Linked DNA regions of Homo sapiens: regions 1, 2 and 4 are each linked to region 3. The links are contacts of gene promoters, found by promoter capture Hi-C in blood cells and fetal thymus (Javierre and others, 2016). All regions are on one chromosome and are shown on one strand. Each heading gives the region's core, a stretch centred on a gene start or on the middle of the fragment in contact. The rest is flanking DNA. Distances are from core to core; before and after follow the strand shown. Region 1 holds the start of POLI (DNA polymerase iota). Region 2 holds the start of LMAN1 (lectin, mannose binding 1). Region 3 holds the start of TXNL1 (thioredoxin like 1). Region 4 holds the start of MBD2 (methyl-CpG binding domain protein 2).

Region 1 (4,281 bases), core at 330-2,829, 2.4 Mb before region 3:
CTTGTCAGATCAGCAGCGGCATTAGATTCTCACAGGAGCCTGAACGCTACTGTGAACTCGCATGCGAGGGATCTAGGTTGCATGCTTCTTATGAGAATCTAATGCCTGATGATCTATCACTATCTCCCATCACCCCAGATGGGACAGTCTAGTTGCAGGAAAACACGCTCAGGGCTCCCACTGATTCTACCTCATTATCTATTAAAATGTAATAATAATAGAAATAAAGTGCACAACAAATGTAACGCACTTGGATCATCCCAAAACCATCCCCCTCCCTTCTGTCTGTGGAAAAATTGTCTTCCATGAAACCAGCCCCTGGTGCCAAAAAGGTTGGGAATGGCTGCTTTAAAGGGTTTCTCAAGGTTCTAATATTTTATTTGATAAGAAGTAGAATCATATAAAAAACCAAACATATGTGTTAATTTGGGTATTTATACAGATATAGTGTATATACATACATACAGGCATGGAGGAATTTCCAAATTTCCTCTATTGTAAAACATACACATACACACACCAACACACACATGCACACATGGTATCCTAATAGAAGGCAAGGAGAATAGACATTTACTGAGCACTTCCTATGTGCCACATGTTTTATATACATTAGGATATTACAGTATATGGTAGCTTTTATCCATTCATTCAATCTCAATACTTTTTTTTTTTTTTAAGAGTAGAGCAACTGAGGCTCACAGCAGTTATGTAACCTGCCCAAAGTCACACAGCATGATGGAGGGTCTGGATTGGAGATTTTGTCTGACTACAACACTCATGTATCAAATCCTATTCAGTTTTGATGTTAAAAATTCTGTGGTTGAATTCGTCACAGTGTCTTTAAATAAAACAACAACAAACAAAACACAGCAAACCTTAACATAGTTGCTAATCATATGAGTTTACAAGGCCACCTGTGTCTTTACTATCAGTTACACTCCTTCCCACCCCATCACATTAATCACTCAGGTCTAGGGATTTGCAAGTTTGCTAACAGCCGAATGGAACAAAGACAAAACGCTAAAATTTGTGATGTGGGCCTAACTCCAAAGCCTTCAAGAAAAAAAAAAAAAGGCCAGGCGCAGTGGCTCATGCCTGTGATCTCAACACTTTGGGAGGCCTAGGAGGGTGGATCACCTGAGGACAGGAGTTCGAAACCAGCCTGACCAACATGGTGAAACCTCGTCTCTACTAAATACAAAAAAATTAGCTGGGCGTGATGGCGCATGCCTGTTAATCCCAGCTACTTGGGAGGCTGAGGCAGGAGAATCGCTTGAATCCGGGAGGCAGAGGTTGCAGTGAGCCGGTATTGCGTCACTGTTGCCCACTCCAGCCTGAGCAACAAGAACGAAACTCCGTCTCAAAAAAAAAAAAAATAGCCATTTGTGCTTTCAATCTCTCCGCTTCCGGCCTCCACCCGGCGGGAAAAAACTCCCGCACGTGGGCCTCCACGATTCCTTGGCATGCGTGTCACTCTGGGCAACAGGCTGGTCGGCCACGACTGCGCAGGCGAGAGGCACAGAGCGACTGGAGACTGTAGTCCCCCGGTTTCCCTGGAGACCAGGCGGAAGCGGCCGGAAGTAGCGCTGCGGTTGGCAGCGGCGGGATGGAGAAGCTGGGGGTGGAGCCGGAGGAGGAAGGCGGCGGCGACGACGACGAGGAAGACGCCGAGGCCTGGGCCATGGAACTGGCGGACGTGGGGGCGGCAGCCAGCTCGCAGGGTGCGCCGCAGCCAGAGGAGCCAGCGGCCTCCTTGGGTGTAAATGAGAAGGGTGGGGCAGGCGGACGCTCGGGGCGGCGGCCACTGGGGCGCGACCGTCCCCGCCCCACTCGGCTCCTCTAAGAGAGGGCTGCCTCCCTCTGCCTTGTGTTACGCGGCGGGTACCTCTAGAGGAATGGCTTCACCCAGCAGGAGTAGGGTGGGGCGCGTCCACACTACAAATACGTGTCGAGGGTTTATCTGCGCCGTCCTTTCCTCTGTGAGGGGCGAGGTGGGGCGGGAATCCCTCAGCCAGCCCGACGAAAACTGCAGAGGCTTCTGGGCCTTTTAACTTTGGAGAAGTTGAGGACCTTGTCGCTCATTTGGCAGAAGGTGGGACCCGGATCTCAGTCCTGGCAGGAAGGGATGGCTCAGAACCTAGGCGGAGTCAGGTCCGCTGTGGTCACGTCTCCGGTGACCCACTTCCAGCTCTGGTCTTTACCTTGTACCGCCCACCTCAGGGCCTGGATGTAAAGGCACCGGTTCTCATTTCCTGCTGGTTTTGTTTCATTCATTAATTTAGAGACAAGGTCTCCCTGCAGCCTCGAACCCCTGGGCTCAAGTGATCCTCCGCCCCAGCCTCTCCGTCCCGAGTAGCTGGGACAGCAGGCACGTGCCACCACACCTGGCTGATTTTCAGATTTTTTTAGATCAGGTGTAGCTGTGTTGTCCAGGCTGGTCTCAAACTCCAGCCACAAGCGATCCTTCCACCTCAGCTTCGAAAAGTATTGGGATTACAGTAGTTAGCCATCGTGCCTGGCCTTTTAAATTTTGGAACTTTAGGTTTACCTGAAAGTTGCAGAGCTAGATCCCCCTAGTGTTAACATAAACTCAGTACATTTGTCAAAACTAGGAAATTAACATTGGTATAATACTATTAATTGAACTACACGCTTTATTAATATTCTACCAGTTTTTCTGCTAACGTTCATTTTCTGTTCCAGGATCCCAACCAGAATATTGTATTGTATTTTGCCTGTCTTGTTTTTAGCCAGTGTTGAGAGAAGGAGTCGCCTCTGTCATTCCCTCCCCGACAAATAATGACCTAACAACTTTTTAAAATCAAAGAACTATTCAGTCTTTCAATTTAGTGAATATTTATTGGTGGTCTGTTATGTCCTAGACACTGTTTTAGGCACTGGCGATTTAGCATTAAACCAGATAATCCTGCTGCCATGGGAGCTAAAAATAGCCCACACTTGTACCCACTGGTTGTCTTTTGCCATTTTGTATTTCAGTTTTTGTTGGTTTGTTTGTTTTAAATGTAAGGGCATGCTGCTTAGAATAATTTTCAAGCTGTGTGAAAATCAACGTCATTTCAACTTTTCTGCCCCTTCTGGTTTACACTAAGAGCTACTATAAACTTCCAGGTGATAGTATTAGCTCTTTCATCATCCATTATTTATCACATTTTTTCCCTTCAAACTTATTACTATCCTGAGAAAAACGCAGTGCACAAACAGTAATTAAGAGGACTGAAGACCCTACCCTAAGTGGAGTTTCATGTCTTTGTAATTTTTCGATGCTTTCACACATAATCCAGGAGAAAACACGTCACTCTGCATTCTTCCTTCACAGGTACCATGTTTTAAGGAACTGTCAGTTGCTCAGAGATAATAAGCAGCCTGAATTTCTTTTTATTTCTTTGCATATTGTGCAGGAGTTCATGATCAAGTGTTGCCCACACCAAATGCTTCATCCAGAGTCATAGTACATGTGGATCTGGATTGCTTTTATGCACAAGTAGAAATGATCTCAAATCCAGAGCTAAAAGACAAACCTTTAGGTAACTGTAGATTTATAATATTTTTAATTGCATAATGATTAGATTAGCAACTCATCATGCTCATTATATACTGATTTATTAACCTTATTAAGAAAGATTTTGGAAGCAGTTCTTACAGTGCTTTATAGCTGGTCATTTTTGCTTCACTACCAAGTGTAAATTTTACAAGCCTCATTTAATAAGTGGTGAATCTGAGAATAGTGTAGTCGGCAGAACAAATGAAGAGAAAGCAGAATAAATGTTACTTTTCTGTGCTGGTTAGTAGCTTAGTTTGCTGGTCAGATTTCTTTTTCTCACTATTTGAAATTTTACAGGCTTTGTTCTCAAAAACAGCCTCTTATTACATTTTAGTGGAAGTGTTCGTCTGTCCTCCCCTTTCTGAAATTATCTCTTAAATTGTGTAACATCTAACTAACTAGTTGGATTTTGAACATAAACCTAAGTATTATTAAGACAGCAAACTTGCCGTAAAAACATAAGCATCTTTTTAAATAAAAGCCAAAATAAATTTTATATTGGATATTTGTTGATATGCTAGCTTGTTTTATCATTTTTATTATTCATATTTTAAATTGAGAAAGATAAAGAGATTTTCTTTCATGCATGCAGGAAAGATTCCTCTTTTAGTGTAAGCATAAAGAACATTTTTGGTTCACTTGCTGCTACCCTCTTGTGCCCACTTTGGCTTAATAAATCCCAATCCAGCCTAGCTGATTTACTGAAGAACAAAGGG
Region 2 (4,304 bases), core at 916-3,415, 2.7 Mb after region 3:
CTTATGCAAAAACTACAGTGACAATGAAAGCAAGGGATGTCTATAGCAGAGATTCCCAGAGCCAGTAGCCAGATAAATCATGGCTAAAATACTAATACTTTGTTTCAAATTCATTCTAGCCACACGGCTTTAATTTACTGGTACATTATCTTGACATTTCTGCAGCAGAATAGATTAGTTGGTTCCGGCTCTGTAAAGGAAGTCAAGGTAGCTGATTTGACTAGTTGATTAACATTCCTAATTGGCTAATGTAGTGTATGTGAGTGTGAGAAAAAGAGAAAAGGGATAGAAGAACAGGCAGGCAGTGGAGAGGTGTAGAAGTGAAAATGTGTGAACAAATCCATCACTACTGAATAATTCATCATCCCACAAATAGAAACAAAAACTCCAAAAACTTGTGTTTGATATCATTTGCATCACCTTTGTGTATCAAGAATAGAGATACCTTGATAACAAATGCCCAGTAATATACCCTTGCTGCATGGGCACATAATAAATGACTGCTGAGTAACGAAATAACTGCACTCTACTTCAACTACTTAATGACTTGGTCATTAAGTCAAATTAAAATCTATACCTTTCAATTACACATTAATTTGAGAGAAATAGCGCTTCCTAAAAGGGTGCTTCCTATTCAGTAATTACTTTCTAGAAATGAAACATTTTGTTTCAAGAACTGGATAATCTAAAGTGATGTATAAAAACCTTATATAAAAGATTACTTATGGGGGAGGTGGGAGGGATAGCATTAGGAGATATACCTAATGTTAAATGACTAGTTAATGGGTGCAGCACACCAACATGGCAAATGTATACATACTAACCAACCTGCACGTTGTGCACATGTACCCTAAACCTTATAGTAAAAAAAAAAAAAAAAAAAAAGATTAATCACACACAAAGATAGAATTCAAACTGCCAGAGCTCCTCATCTCATATAAAGGCATTTGCCACTTGTTCAACGGGTATATCTGATGGTCACTGAACAGAGCTTATGTCATGCCAAGTGCTACGATTGACTCCTTAGTCAGCAGTGACACATCAGCACTAAAAAGTGCAGATATGTTTTCTTTCACGTAAGTAAATGCTCTAGCAAGGCTCTCTTATCTACAAAAGTGCCAAACACAGAGAGTGAATAAAATATGAACCCAAGATTATTTCAATGCTTCCAATTTTTTTAAAGGGCTAAAAATGTAATGCTATTCTTAGTCTCAGGTTCAGAAACAATCAATCCCTAAAAATATATCCCTTCTCCTAAAAAGTTACATAATGTGTTACTACGAGAGAAAAGATCAAAGACCACACCAAGTCACTGAGAGGAAAATGTGTAGTTCCAACAGTATAAGAATGTCTTCTGACATACAAAGACTTAAAAAATTACTCTAATACTACTATATGCCATCTCAGGAGCCGTCAGTGGGCATGGGGTTCAAGCGAAGCATTAACCATTGCTAACACCGGAGCAAAGAAATCGGGGATCGGGGGTGGGGGGTGGAAGCGGGAAAGGAAGTAAGGGGGCTTCTAGAACATGTCTCAGGTTGGGATGGCTGGGGGTAGGGCACATTTCTCCTAGAGACGTGGCGTTGTGAAACATGATACCTAGAAGCAAGTTTGAGTGCTAGGAAGTGTAGGAGGTAACCAAACACCTCTAGATCCAACGGAAAGTACCGACGAGATCAAAGAAGGGAAGACAGCAGGCGGGTGAGAGAGAACAGAATGGGTGAGGGAAAGACTCGGGGACAAGCGGAGGGAACCGTGCGAACCAGGAGGGACCCGGCGGAGGGGCTGCCAGGAGGGTCCCCTCCACAGCGCATATGGTGTGCAGCTGCTGGAACGGGAACCTCAGCACACCAGGGTAGCCGCGGATGAAAGGCGAAGAGGCAGCAGAAGGGGGAGAGGAACCCGGCCCCCAGCCCTCTGCTCCGGCTTACTCCCCGCGTGGGCCCAGAAGGGCACGGTCCCGTCGCTCTGCACCAGGTGCGGCCCCTTGAAGCTGTATTTGTACTCGAAACGGCGATGTGGCAACGCGACCGCGGGGTCTCCTCCCACGCCGTCGCCCCGGACGAAGCGACCGAGTGACAGCAGCAAGGCGCAGAACAGCGGCCGAACTCTGGCCCGGAGACCCCTTTGCCTGGATCCCGCCATCTTGGATTCTGGAACGCGGAGGAGGGCGGGAGAGGGAGGGGCGCGGATGGCTGCGGATGGCCAACAGGGCGCTCGCTGATTGGCAGAGCCCGGGGGACCCCCAAGGGCAAGGGGTGAGCCCCGCCCCCGGCCTCCGCTTTCCGCGCGGCCGCACGGCCAGGAGCAGCTGTGGGCGGGGCCACGCGCAGGGGGCGGGTCTGGGGCGGTGCGGTCCTTCGGCCCCGCCCACCCTCCGGGGGTGGGGAAAGGACTCCAACCTTCGCTTCCCGCGCGGCAGAGTGCGGGAAGCGCCGATGGGTCCTTACCTGCAGGGAGCTTTCTCCGGCTTCTTAGAATACCTGGGAGCAGGAATTGGCTAGCCCTAAGACCTCTGGACCCAGCCTGTACAAAACCTTTTTAGTATATTAGAAGAAAGGTGTTCCTTTTGATGTGACATCAGTTTTTCAGTGGCACAATCCCGAATGCTTATGGTCCCAGCCCACTGAGCTCTACCAAGCTATGTTAGAGCGTTGCAAACTAGAAACCAGCACCCACGGGGTTGTAGGATGCCTTAGGATTTATAAGTTGGTGTCGGAAAGAGGGTTTCTGTGAATTTGTCAGCCAGCCTTTACATCTCAAAATTTAATTCCAAGAGCTTTCCAAATTTTGAAACCATGGCAAGAGTGCATTCAAATGAAACTGACTTTGGTTTGGTTTGGTTTTGGTGAGAGGGATAATGTGCTATGGACCCAGGCGTCTGTAGAACCTGGACATTTGATATAGGATCGGTCTTCCACTCAATGAATACGTTCTATATTTTAAAGGGGACTCCTCTTTCCCTTGCTTAGGAAAAAATATCGTCAAAATATTCATGGTAATCCAAAGTTTTGTTTTTTCAAAAATGTGTCATGATGAGTTTTTCAAGTCCAAGAAACAGCAGTATGATTTATATTGTTTTTACACATGGCTTTTTATTAGCTCTGTTCGTGTGGGCTACATGAACGCCACACTAGCCCTAGGGACTCAATACCCGCATTACTTAAACTTATTTTTCATTAACTTCCCAGTTTTGGAAGTTGAATCCCATCTTCGGATTCATGGGCCATTACTGTTAAATCTCTTTCTAGTGCTCAAATAAAACCTTCAAGTTGAATATGGATTTAAGGCTTTCCGCCTGCTAGTCTCGAGATGTAATTTAAATGAAAGTACCATACTTACTGCTATCTCAGCAGCAGCAGTAACAAACATTTATCCACTGTATGGTGTATGTGCGTCATTGCCCTGGACTCTCCATGGTTTTCAACCCATAGGATTTAATCATTTTATTTTCTTTGGTTCTCTCATTGCTCTGGCAACCAGCTCTATGCCTTGCACAGAGTGAAGATTCCATAAATATTTGTTAAACAAACATTAATGTTATAAAAATGGCAAACACTTACTGAGTGCTTTCTGTGTGTAACTGCACTAAGCCTTCAACATATGTTAACTTATTGAATGCTGACAGCAGCCCTCTAAGGTAGATGCCATTAATATTTCCATTTACAGATGAGGAAACAGAAGCATAGATTAAATAATTTGCCCAATGTCACACAGTAAGTGGCAGAGGTAGGTTTCAATTCCAGCCATTCTATCATTGAAGCCTTCAATCTTAAGAACCGTTTTATGTTAAACATTATGTATATTAAGTATTTTCAATTCATTACGCATGATTTGAACTCATGAGGGACCTGAATTTCAAGCATAATACAAGTAAATATTTGTAATTTTGCTGAACCATAAATGTAAATCTTTATGTTCTGTGAAGCTGTTTCTTAAAAAAAAAACTGTTTTATTGAAGCATATTATATAGAGAAAATTATGCCAGCCTTAAGAATGTAACTCAATGAATTTTTCCCAAAATGAATACCTCCCATGCAACCAGCATCCAGATTTTTTTTTTAAAAAACACACATTTCTAGAGTTAATGGGTGCAGCACACCAACATGGCACATGTATACATATGTAACAAACCTGCACGTTGTGCACATGTACCCTAGAACTTAAAGTATAATAAAAAAAAATTTCTACTGGGTATGTAACTAGGAGTAGAGTTGCTGGGTCATAGTAGATCCTGCCAAATTTTCAGAGTGGTTGTGCTAATTTACACTGCCATCAGCAGTATGTGAGGGCTTCAGCTGTCT
Region 3 (4,055 bases), core at 1,479-3,978:
ATACCAAAATTAACTCAAAATGGATCAAGGACCTAAACTTAAGAGCTAAAACTATAAAACTCTTAGATGAAAACATAGGGAGAAATCTTCATGACATTGAATCTTGCAATGATTTCTTGAATATGACACCAAAAGCACAGGCAACAAAAGTATAGATAAATTGGACTTCATCAAAATTTAAAACTCATGCATCAAAGGACACCATCAAGAAAAAGACAACCCAAAGAATGGGACAAAGTATTTGCAAATTAAATATTAACATCCGGCATATATAAAGAACTCCTGCAACTCAACCCAAAAACAAACCACTCAATTCAAAAATGGGCACAGAAGGCCCAGCGCAGTGACTCACACCTGTAACCCCAGCAATTTGGGATGCTGACGTGGGAGGGTCGCTTGAAGCCAGGATTTAGACCAGCCTGGGCAACAAAGTGAGACTTAGTCTCTAAAACAAAAAATAAATTAGCGGGCATGGTGGTATGTGTCTGTAGTCCCATTTACTTGAGAGGCTGATGTGGGAGGATTGCTTGAGGCCAGGAATTCAATGCTGCAGTGAGCCATCGTCTCAAAACTGCACTCCAGCCTGGGCAACAGAGCAAGACCCTGTCTCTAACAAATAAGAAAAAAGAAAAGCAAGCAAGTAAGCAGGGATCCCCGCATAGCAATGTCCCCTAGCAGCATTATCCACAACAGCCAAAGGAAGACACAACTGGAATGTCCATCAAAAAATGAACAGGTATACAAAATTTGCCATATAAATAAATGGATTATGTTATGCAGTTATAAAGAAGAATGAAATTCTGAGACATACTAAGACATGGATGAACCTTGAAAATACTATGCTAAGTGAAGTCAAAAACAAAAGGACAAATATTGTTACGATTTCACTTATATTAGGTGCCACAAATTGACAAATTCATAGAGACAGAAAGCAGAATAGAAGTTACCAAGGAGGTAGATGGGGAGGGGCAAATTACTGCTTAATGGGTACAGTTTTGTCCCTTTGGAGAAGTAAGGATGGGGAGTTATCCTTTAATGGATATAGAATTTCTGTCTAAAGTTATAGGAAACAGTGGTGATGGTGGCACAACATTGTGACTGTATAGTCATGTCTGGGTATCTGGGGGATTAGTTTCAGGACCTCCAGCAAGACACTAAATCACAGATGCTCAAGGGCCTAATAGAAAATGACATGGTATCTGCACATAACCTACGACCATTCTCCCATATACTTTAAATCATCTCTAGATTACTTATAATGCCTAAGGTAAATGCTATGTAAATAGTTGTTATACTGTATTGTTTAGAAAATAATGACAAGAAAAAAGTGTGTACATGATCAGCACAAATGCAATTTTTTTTCTCCAAATATTTTCTATCCACATTTGGTTCAATCCATGGATACAGAGGGCTGACTGTCCTTAATGCCAATGAATTATACTCTTACAAATGGCTAAATGGTCAATTTTATGTTATATATATTTTATCATAAGCCACTAAAGATTCTTACACAGGAGAACAATCTATGTATCATTTTAGTAAAATTTAGACTGAGAGTGCATAAAGCATAGAGGTTAAAAAAAAAGAAAAAAGGTTTAAAATAGGGTTGGAAAGGAAATGAAATAGGTGCTGGAGAAACTATGCCCTCAGTCTAAACTGGGACAGCATTAACTTTGATCTAAGAGGATTCTTACAAGATTTTACTGAATACAGTTGTTTCTGAGTCTAATACTGACCCGTCATATACATAATTCTGGGGTTCTATTGACAATGAGTTTAGACAGGATGTATTAATGGCCAATAAGTTCGAGGAATATTAAAGGTAAATACAATAATCTTACCAGATTTGTAAACGTAATATAAATATGCTTTTGAACTTACTCTAAATCCAAACATTAATTTTCCCTCGGTTTTTACAAAGAAAAAAAATTTTAATTCCACTAAAATACCTTTTTAAATGTAACAGTTCCTTACCAATCAATGTCTGCAGTTATGCTTATGCTTAAGTGACACCACACTGATAGAAAAAACCTTCCTTCGCAGCAATGTTTCCCCAGTTTTCTCACTTCAATCAATATTTATTTATTATTTTATTATCTCTCCCACTGCTATGGTAAGGGAGAAAAACAATATATCATTGAGGGACAAAAATATAAAAGCTTCGACGGGCCAGAATTAGAATAAGTGAACTAAAAGTGAGGTGAGGTTCCTTATTGAAATCCTATCTTCCCTTTTCTACTGTGGCCTAGATACTTAATGTACTACAGGTATTCCCCTATTATTAAGAATACAGACATCACAAAATTGCTAAAAATGAGAAGACACATTTATAGAATTCTAACATTCCTTTTAGGTGTTTTATATATATGACATCACTTATCCTTTTAAATTTAGTAAATGCAAAATTCCGTATATCATATGGGTACTCTAGCCCACCATATGAAATGCAAGGTACTATCCTTTTTCAATTCAGTGTAAGAGAGACTGGTCCAAAAATAAGTCTTAACTTGTTTTCATATCTATCTGCATCCATTCCCTAAAACGATATAATCCTAATGCCACCATTTATATACTCAACATTTAGTGAACCATCTAGTAGAAACTTTGTTTTTTGCTCTGAAATTCAAAATGGAATTTTGTGTTTATACAGTTATTTGGACAAGAAAGTGTGTTACATAAACAGTGATACCAGCAGTAGACTGCTCCAAGTTAGATGTATAAATAACGCCAAGGGGTCAAGGAAAATAAAGCGGAAACCTCTCATACTTCTAACTAAATACTATCGACATACACAAGGAGAGATCTGTGAAACACACACACACGCTGAAATCTTGGTTCTCAACGCCGAGTTCCAACATGTCATTCTTACAAAGGAACTTTACTACACATCCACTATAAAAGGTCCACCTTTTCTACGACCTATAATTTTGTTGATATTTACCAAAGACAGTTAACATTTTTCAAGATCCCTGTCCTCTTAAGTGAAAAAACAGAGCCGGGTCAAACTAAGACATCCGGCCAACTGTCCACCTGAAATATATTATATATGTACTGTCGTGTGTGACCAGTTGCAATCGCATACATAGGGGAGCCTAAGCTACAAGTTAGTGGCCGAACGAGGAAGAAAAAAGTTCAAATAATTTAAAAAGCACCCTAACCCAACGTTAACTTAGTTCGAAATGCATTAGCAGAAATTCAGGACTCAGAGCTACGCATATTAGTTAGATCGCCCCATCTGAATCTTCAAAGGCTTTAGAGAGATGTAGGTGGTGAAGAGAAACAAAGTGTTCGGTAAATTAAGCTTTTGGAGCTCTGGAGATGCAAATGACAGCTGGCTCTGCAGAAAGAAGGGGTCAGGCTCAGGCAAGGGTGGCTGCGGAGACTCCCACAGGCTGGAAGGAATAGGGGCGGGCCACCCCCAAAACCAGTTTGTCAAAGAATTGAAAAGGAGCAGGTGAGAAATCTCCTGAGCTGGAGAAGCCGGCCAGCCAGGCCCCCGAGCCCGTCTAGGAACCCCTGTGCATAAATGGGGGTTCACACCCGAGAAACGAGGCCTAATTCCGGCAGCTCCTGGGGCTGCGGCGACTGCCGGACACTCCGGGGCAGCAGACGGCTAGGAAACCAGGGCCAACAAAGAGTGAAAGGAAAGCAAGGAAGGACAGACGGGGACCCACAGAGCTCGAGCCTGGCCTCACCCTCTCATGGTGAACTTGACCACGGCGAGTCTGGAGCCCGCGCCGCTCAGCTCTGGCTGGAAATCCGGGTCGCTCCCGACGGGCTTCACCCCCACCATCCTCACAGAGAGCCCGGCAGGGTGGCCGCGACGCCACTGGCTTTGAAACTGAAGGAGAAGACGATCTGGGAGAGGAAGGAGAGATGCTCAGGAAGGCCGAGGCCTGGACAGAAGAGGTGGCGACCGCCGAGTCTTCTCCCGGGACTCTCAGTGCCGAGTCACGCCAGGGAGCGGAGCGGCCGAGGGGGCGGGGAGGGATGGGGGAGGGGAGAGGAGGAGGATGGGAAGGCGTGCGGCACCCAGCAGCCACCGCGCGGCAGGG
Region 4 (4,368 bases), core at 882-3,381, 2.4 Mb before region 3:
GGTCATTGCAGCCTCGAACTCCTGGACTCAAGAGATTCTCTCGCCCCAGCCCCGTAACTGGGACCACAGGTGATTACTACCTTCTTATGTTTAAAAGAAGTTCTCCATTTTATCATATGAGGTTTCAAGATGAGGGTCCAGATCAAGTGGAAGACTAAGTTCTATGAAACATCACTTTTATTTTTTAGTTGAGGTGAAGTGAACTTACTACAACTACTCATCCATATATAGCAACCATCAGGAATGTGTTCGTATTTACATGCTGCACCAGCAGTGATCACATTCTTGTGTGTGCATATGTATGTATATATGTGTATGTACATTTCTTTAACCTTTTCAATCTAGTTAAAAGTATTTTTAGTTCATAAGCATGGTATGTGTACAGACACATTTTCCCAGAGCTACTTGAAGAGGACAGGAAATCCTTTATAACATTATTACAATAGCTAAATGACAATTGTCTCCAATACCCATATACATTCCCTGAAAAATGCTTCAGTCAGTCCACAAACACGTACCTCCAAACTACTGAATACAAGTTTATATTATCTTCTATCAATAGCATGGCTTATTACAAAATTTAGTAAATGTGTATTAAGTCCACGGATGTCAATTGCCATAGGCACTTTCTTGAGCTTACTGGGTCACACAAACTGAAGACATCAGCAGCATGACCACGGGATTGCAAGATTACACTAAGGTGAAAAACCTTGAATCATTTAAAACAGGATGTCTCAACCTCAGCACAGGTGACAATTTGGGCCAGATCATTCTTTGTTGTGGCAGCTTTCCTTTGTATTATCGAATATGTAGCAGCATCTCTGGCCTCTACCCACTAGATGCCAGTATCACACCCTCCCCAGGTGTGAGAACCGAAAATGTCTCCAGACATTGACAAATGTTCCCTGGGGAGCAAATTTTGGTCTAGGAGTCTAAAAACTTAGTACAGTGTGTCAGTTTCAAAAGAGTATATTCTGCAATACCAAGAAGTTCCAAAAAAACTTCAGGCATTCCAAATAGCTGCTTTATACAAAACTTTCTTGGATGAAGTAAATGAAACCTTGTTACTGTAGATAGCTCATTCTTCCACATGTGCATGCTTAACACTTGTGATGATGAATCTGGGACAGGCTGGGACAGGAGCCAACAGTGACTGGGTTTTATAGTTTCGATGAATTACACCTCCTTTTAACCCTTCAGTGGACTAACCATCCCTGCCAGGCTAACCCTTTCTTCGCAAACCATCTTCCCCGACGCCTTCCACATAAGATGCCCTCCTGCGGGCCCTCACCTTTTGACACTGCCTCCCACCGCACTGGGGTCAACTCTCACCCAAGGGTTCCGCCACCTTCCACCACCAAACCAGCCTGTCCCTGCCACATGCCCCCCGGGCCCCAGCGCTCATCCTCTGCCCAGGCCCGCTCTTGACCCCTGACCCCGGCCTGACCCCGCCACCCCCTCCCCGCCCCCAGGGAGGTACCTGAAGTAGTAGACATCGCTCTTGCCAGCACTTAGCCCAGATTTTCGGATCACTTCCTCCTTCTTCCATCCGGGGGGGAGGGCCGGGCAATCCATCCTCTTCCCGCTCTCCGTGGCCCGGGGTCCCCTGGGCCCCGGCCCCGCGCTCCCCGACGGGAAAGGGACCGGCTCCCGCCGGGGGGCGCCGCCGCCACCGCTGCCGCCGCCGCCGCAGCCGCCGCCGTCGCCGCCAAGGCCGCTGCCGCCACTCGGGGGACGGCCGCGGCCCCGGCCCCGGCCCCGTCCCCGTCCCCGGCCACGGCCCCGGCCCCGGCCACGGCCACAGACGCCGCCGCCCCGGCCCGCCTGCTTCCACCGCCCCCGGCCACGGCCGCCGCCCCGAGCGCCTTCCCTGCGCACGCCGCTCACCGGGGACGGGGCGAGCGCGCTGCCCTGGCCCCCCTGCTCTATGGCGGAGTCGCCGCCAGCGCCGCTGCCGCCCGCCGCACTCTCCCCCTCCTCCTGCTCCGGGCAGCAGCGGCCTCCCCCCGGGTGCGCGCGCATCCAGCCCCCTCCCCAGCCGGCGCTGCGCTTCTTCCGTAACCGAGCCCTTGGAATCCCGGAGACCCGCCCCGCCCGCAGCGCGGCGCGCGGGGGACGCGCGCAAGCATCATAGAGCGGGCGCGCACAGAGCGGCCCTCCTGCCCGGGGCGTGGCCCCGGCCACCGCCTCTTAGGTCCTCCAAGCGCTATGGGCGGCCATCTTGTCTCCGCCTTCTCGGGGCCACGCCCCCTCCCGCGCTTTTCCGGCCCCCACTGGGCGCGCGGAGCTGGGAAGGTTGGTCGGGCTAGCCACCAGCTGGGGGTGTCATAGTGACTGTGGTTAGTTTGTTTCAAACGGGGTAACCTCCACCATTATGTGATTTTACCTATGTTTGCTTCCCAATTAATGAATAACAAGCAAAATAGATCTTATATTACATACCAACTCGGCTATTCATTTAAGGGGGTGATAGCCCCTTTTCCCGCCCCTCTGCACAAAGCTTGCAGGGGAGCTTATAATGAAGGAATGAAGCAAAGTGTCCCATTCGCTGAATACCAGTTCCCTCCTGAGCCTGGCTTCAGAGCCATTGACAGATTCTCCTGGAACCTTGTAAGGATGTAGGAAAGGAAATGATAACTTGGAATATGCCCATGAGTCAGATGGGGCTTACCTCTAGATTCTCCTTAGAATGACCAGAATCCCTAAATCCATCTAGAAATTTCCAGATGTCTTTGTCTAATACAAAAATCAGTGGCCTTTTATTTGGTAAATATTCCATTATGTTGAAAGTCCAGCCTAACTTACTGTCACAAGCCTTTAGGAAACTGTGTGGTATTCTTTTCGGTCTGCCAACTTGAATTTTAGAAATGCATATTTTCTATAAGTTGTCGAACACTTATAGAAGTGTGCTATTGATATTCAAGATAATATATTATGAAATATTTGGAAGATTGAAAAATGTAAAGCACATGTTATCAGCCTGATGATAAGCTATCTTGGGTTTCTATACTCATATGCCCTAAAAACTGAGGACCAAGTTTAACGTATAGAAAAAGTTGATTAATATAAAGCAACAAAAATCTAAAATTAATTTGGTTTATCTTTGCAGTATATGCAAACATTAACTCATACACACAAACTTGTCTGTCTCTAAACCTGACCTTAGTCTTCTTTTAATGTCCTTTAGTTGAAAGACACTAATTTGTGGTTTCCTACAAGAAATTTAGAAATGTGAATGTAAAAAATCATCAAGAAATGAGTTCTGAGGAGATCAGTACTGGAGACATTCATTTAGAAGTCATCTGTGGGCCGGGCGCGGTGGCTCACGCCTGTAATCCCAACACTTTGGGAGGCAGAGGCGGGCAGATCACCTGAGGTCAGGAGTTCAAGACCAGCCTGGCTAACACGATGAAACTCCGTCTCTACTAAAAATGCAGAAAATTGGCTGGGCGTGGTGGCGGGCGCCCGTAGTCCCAGCTGCTCCGGAGGCTGAGGCAGGAGAATGGCGTGAACCCGGGAGGCGGAGCTTGCAGTGAACTGGATCACGCCACTGCACTCCAGCCTGGCAGACAGAGCGAGACTCTGTCTCAAAAAAAAAAAAAGAAGTCATTTGTGGCCGGGCGCGGTGGCTTACTTCTGTAATCCCAGCACTTTGGGAGGCCGAGGCCGGCGGATCACGAGGTCTAGAGATAGAGACCATTCTGGCCAACATGGTCAAACCCCATCTCTATTAAAATACAAAAATTAGCTGGGCGTGCTGGCGTGCGCCTGTAATCCCAGCTACTCGGGAGGCTGAGGCAAGAGAATCGCTTGAACACGGGAGGCGGAGATTGCAGTGAGTCGAGATCCCGCTACTGCACTCCAGCCTGGCAACCGAGCGAGACTCCGTCTCAAAAAAAAAAAGTCATTTGTGAAAGTGACAGTTGAAGGAGGCCCTGGAAGTAAGTAAGCTCTCCAAGGAAGGGCTTGCGTGGTTAATAATAAAAGGAAAGAGGATCAAGAACTGAATCTTGAGGAATGCCAATACTTAAGGTTCCACTGAAGGAATAAAGGAAAAAAATGATATTAAAGTTTGTATGACATAAGAGAGTACTCTGATTTTCACACATAATTGAAAGTAAAGGGTAAACATGAGCAAAAATCTCAGTAGAAACGGTAATTGAGACAGGTAGTTGAGACAACAGATGGGAACAGGTATGCTTTTGGAAAATTCTACCTTTTCATGCTGTGCTAATAAGGCTGTAGATCAAATGATATATTGGATATAAAAGCATGCTTAAAGAAATAAATCACAGGATTTTCGGGTCATTATTTTAACTTCTACTACCAGATTCCATTTGCTAAATCCCAGAAGATGTAGCTTAATGT

The links. Contacts are between HindIII fragments. The CHiCAGO score rates a contact against its expected background, and 5 or more counts as called.
Region 1: the fragment with the promoter of POLI here is called in contact with a fragment that was not itself captured in region 3 in 3 of 17 cell types (activated CD4 T cells, fetal thymus and monocytes); the score reaches 6.4 in activated CD4 T cells.
Region 2: the fragment with the promoter of LMAN1 here is called in contact with a fragment that was not itself captured in region 3 in 1 of 17 cell types (non-activated CD4 T cells); the score reaches 5.7 in non-activated CD4 T cells.
Region 4: the fragment with the promoter of MBD2 here is called in contact with a fragment that was not itself captured in region 3 in 14 of 17 cell types (total B cells, naive CD8 T cells, total CD4 T cells and 11 more); the score reaches 19.1 in total B cells.

The regions. Positions count from the first base shown.
Region 1 is chr18:54,267,938-54,272,218 of GRCh38, forward strand. It overlaps POLI (DNA polymerase iota), which reads left to right and starts at 1,580. Exons shown (of 10, transcript NM_007195.3): 1 at 1,580-1,724; 2 at 3,423-3,548. The coding sequence starts at 1,610. LOC124904307 (a long non-coding RNA gene) reads right to left here and starts at 1,968. Exons shown (of 2, transcript XR_007066379.1): 1 at 1,889-1,968. RefSeq lists enhancers at 942-1,091, 1,352-1,481, 2,012-2,061 and a silencer at 1,692-1,941. The HindIII fragment of the contact is 5,901 bases long and covers 1-4,281 here.
Region 2 is chr18:59,357,100-59,361,403 of GRCh38, forward strand. LMAN1 (lectin, mannose binding 1) reads right to left here and starts at 2,166. Exons shown (of 13, transcript NM_005570.4): 1 at 1,932-2,166. The coding sequence starts at 2,145. RefSeq lists enhancers at 1,581-1,680, 1,691-1,740, 1,931-2,120 and a silencer at 2,151-2,450. The HindIII fragment of the contact is 14,570 bases long and covers 1-4,304 here.
Region 3 is chr18:56,634,648-56,638,702 of GRCh38, forward strand. It overlaps TXNL1 (thioredoxin like 1), which reads right to left and starts at 3,945. Exons shown (of 8, transcript NM_004786.3): 1 at 3,696-3,945. The coding sequence starts at 3,793. RefSeq lists enhancers at 2,997-3,982, 3,764-3,823, 3,983-4,055 and a silencer at 3,974-4,055. The HindIII fragment of the contact is 1,142 bases long and covers 2,158-3,299 here.
Region 4 is chr18:54,222,538-54,226,905 of GRCh38, forward strand. It overlaps MBD2 (methyl-CpG binding domain protein 2), which reads right to left and starts at 2,132. Exons shown (of 7, transcript NM_003927.5): 1 at 1,481-2,132. The coding sequence starts at 2,022. RefSeq lists a silencer at 1,833-2,222 and enhancers at 2,973-3,515, 3,516-4,056. The HindIII fragment of the contact is 9,949 bases long and covers 1-2,498 here.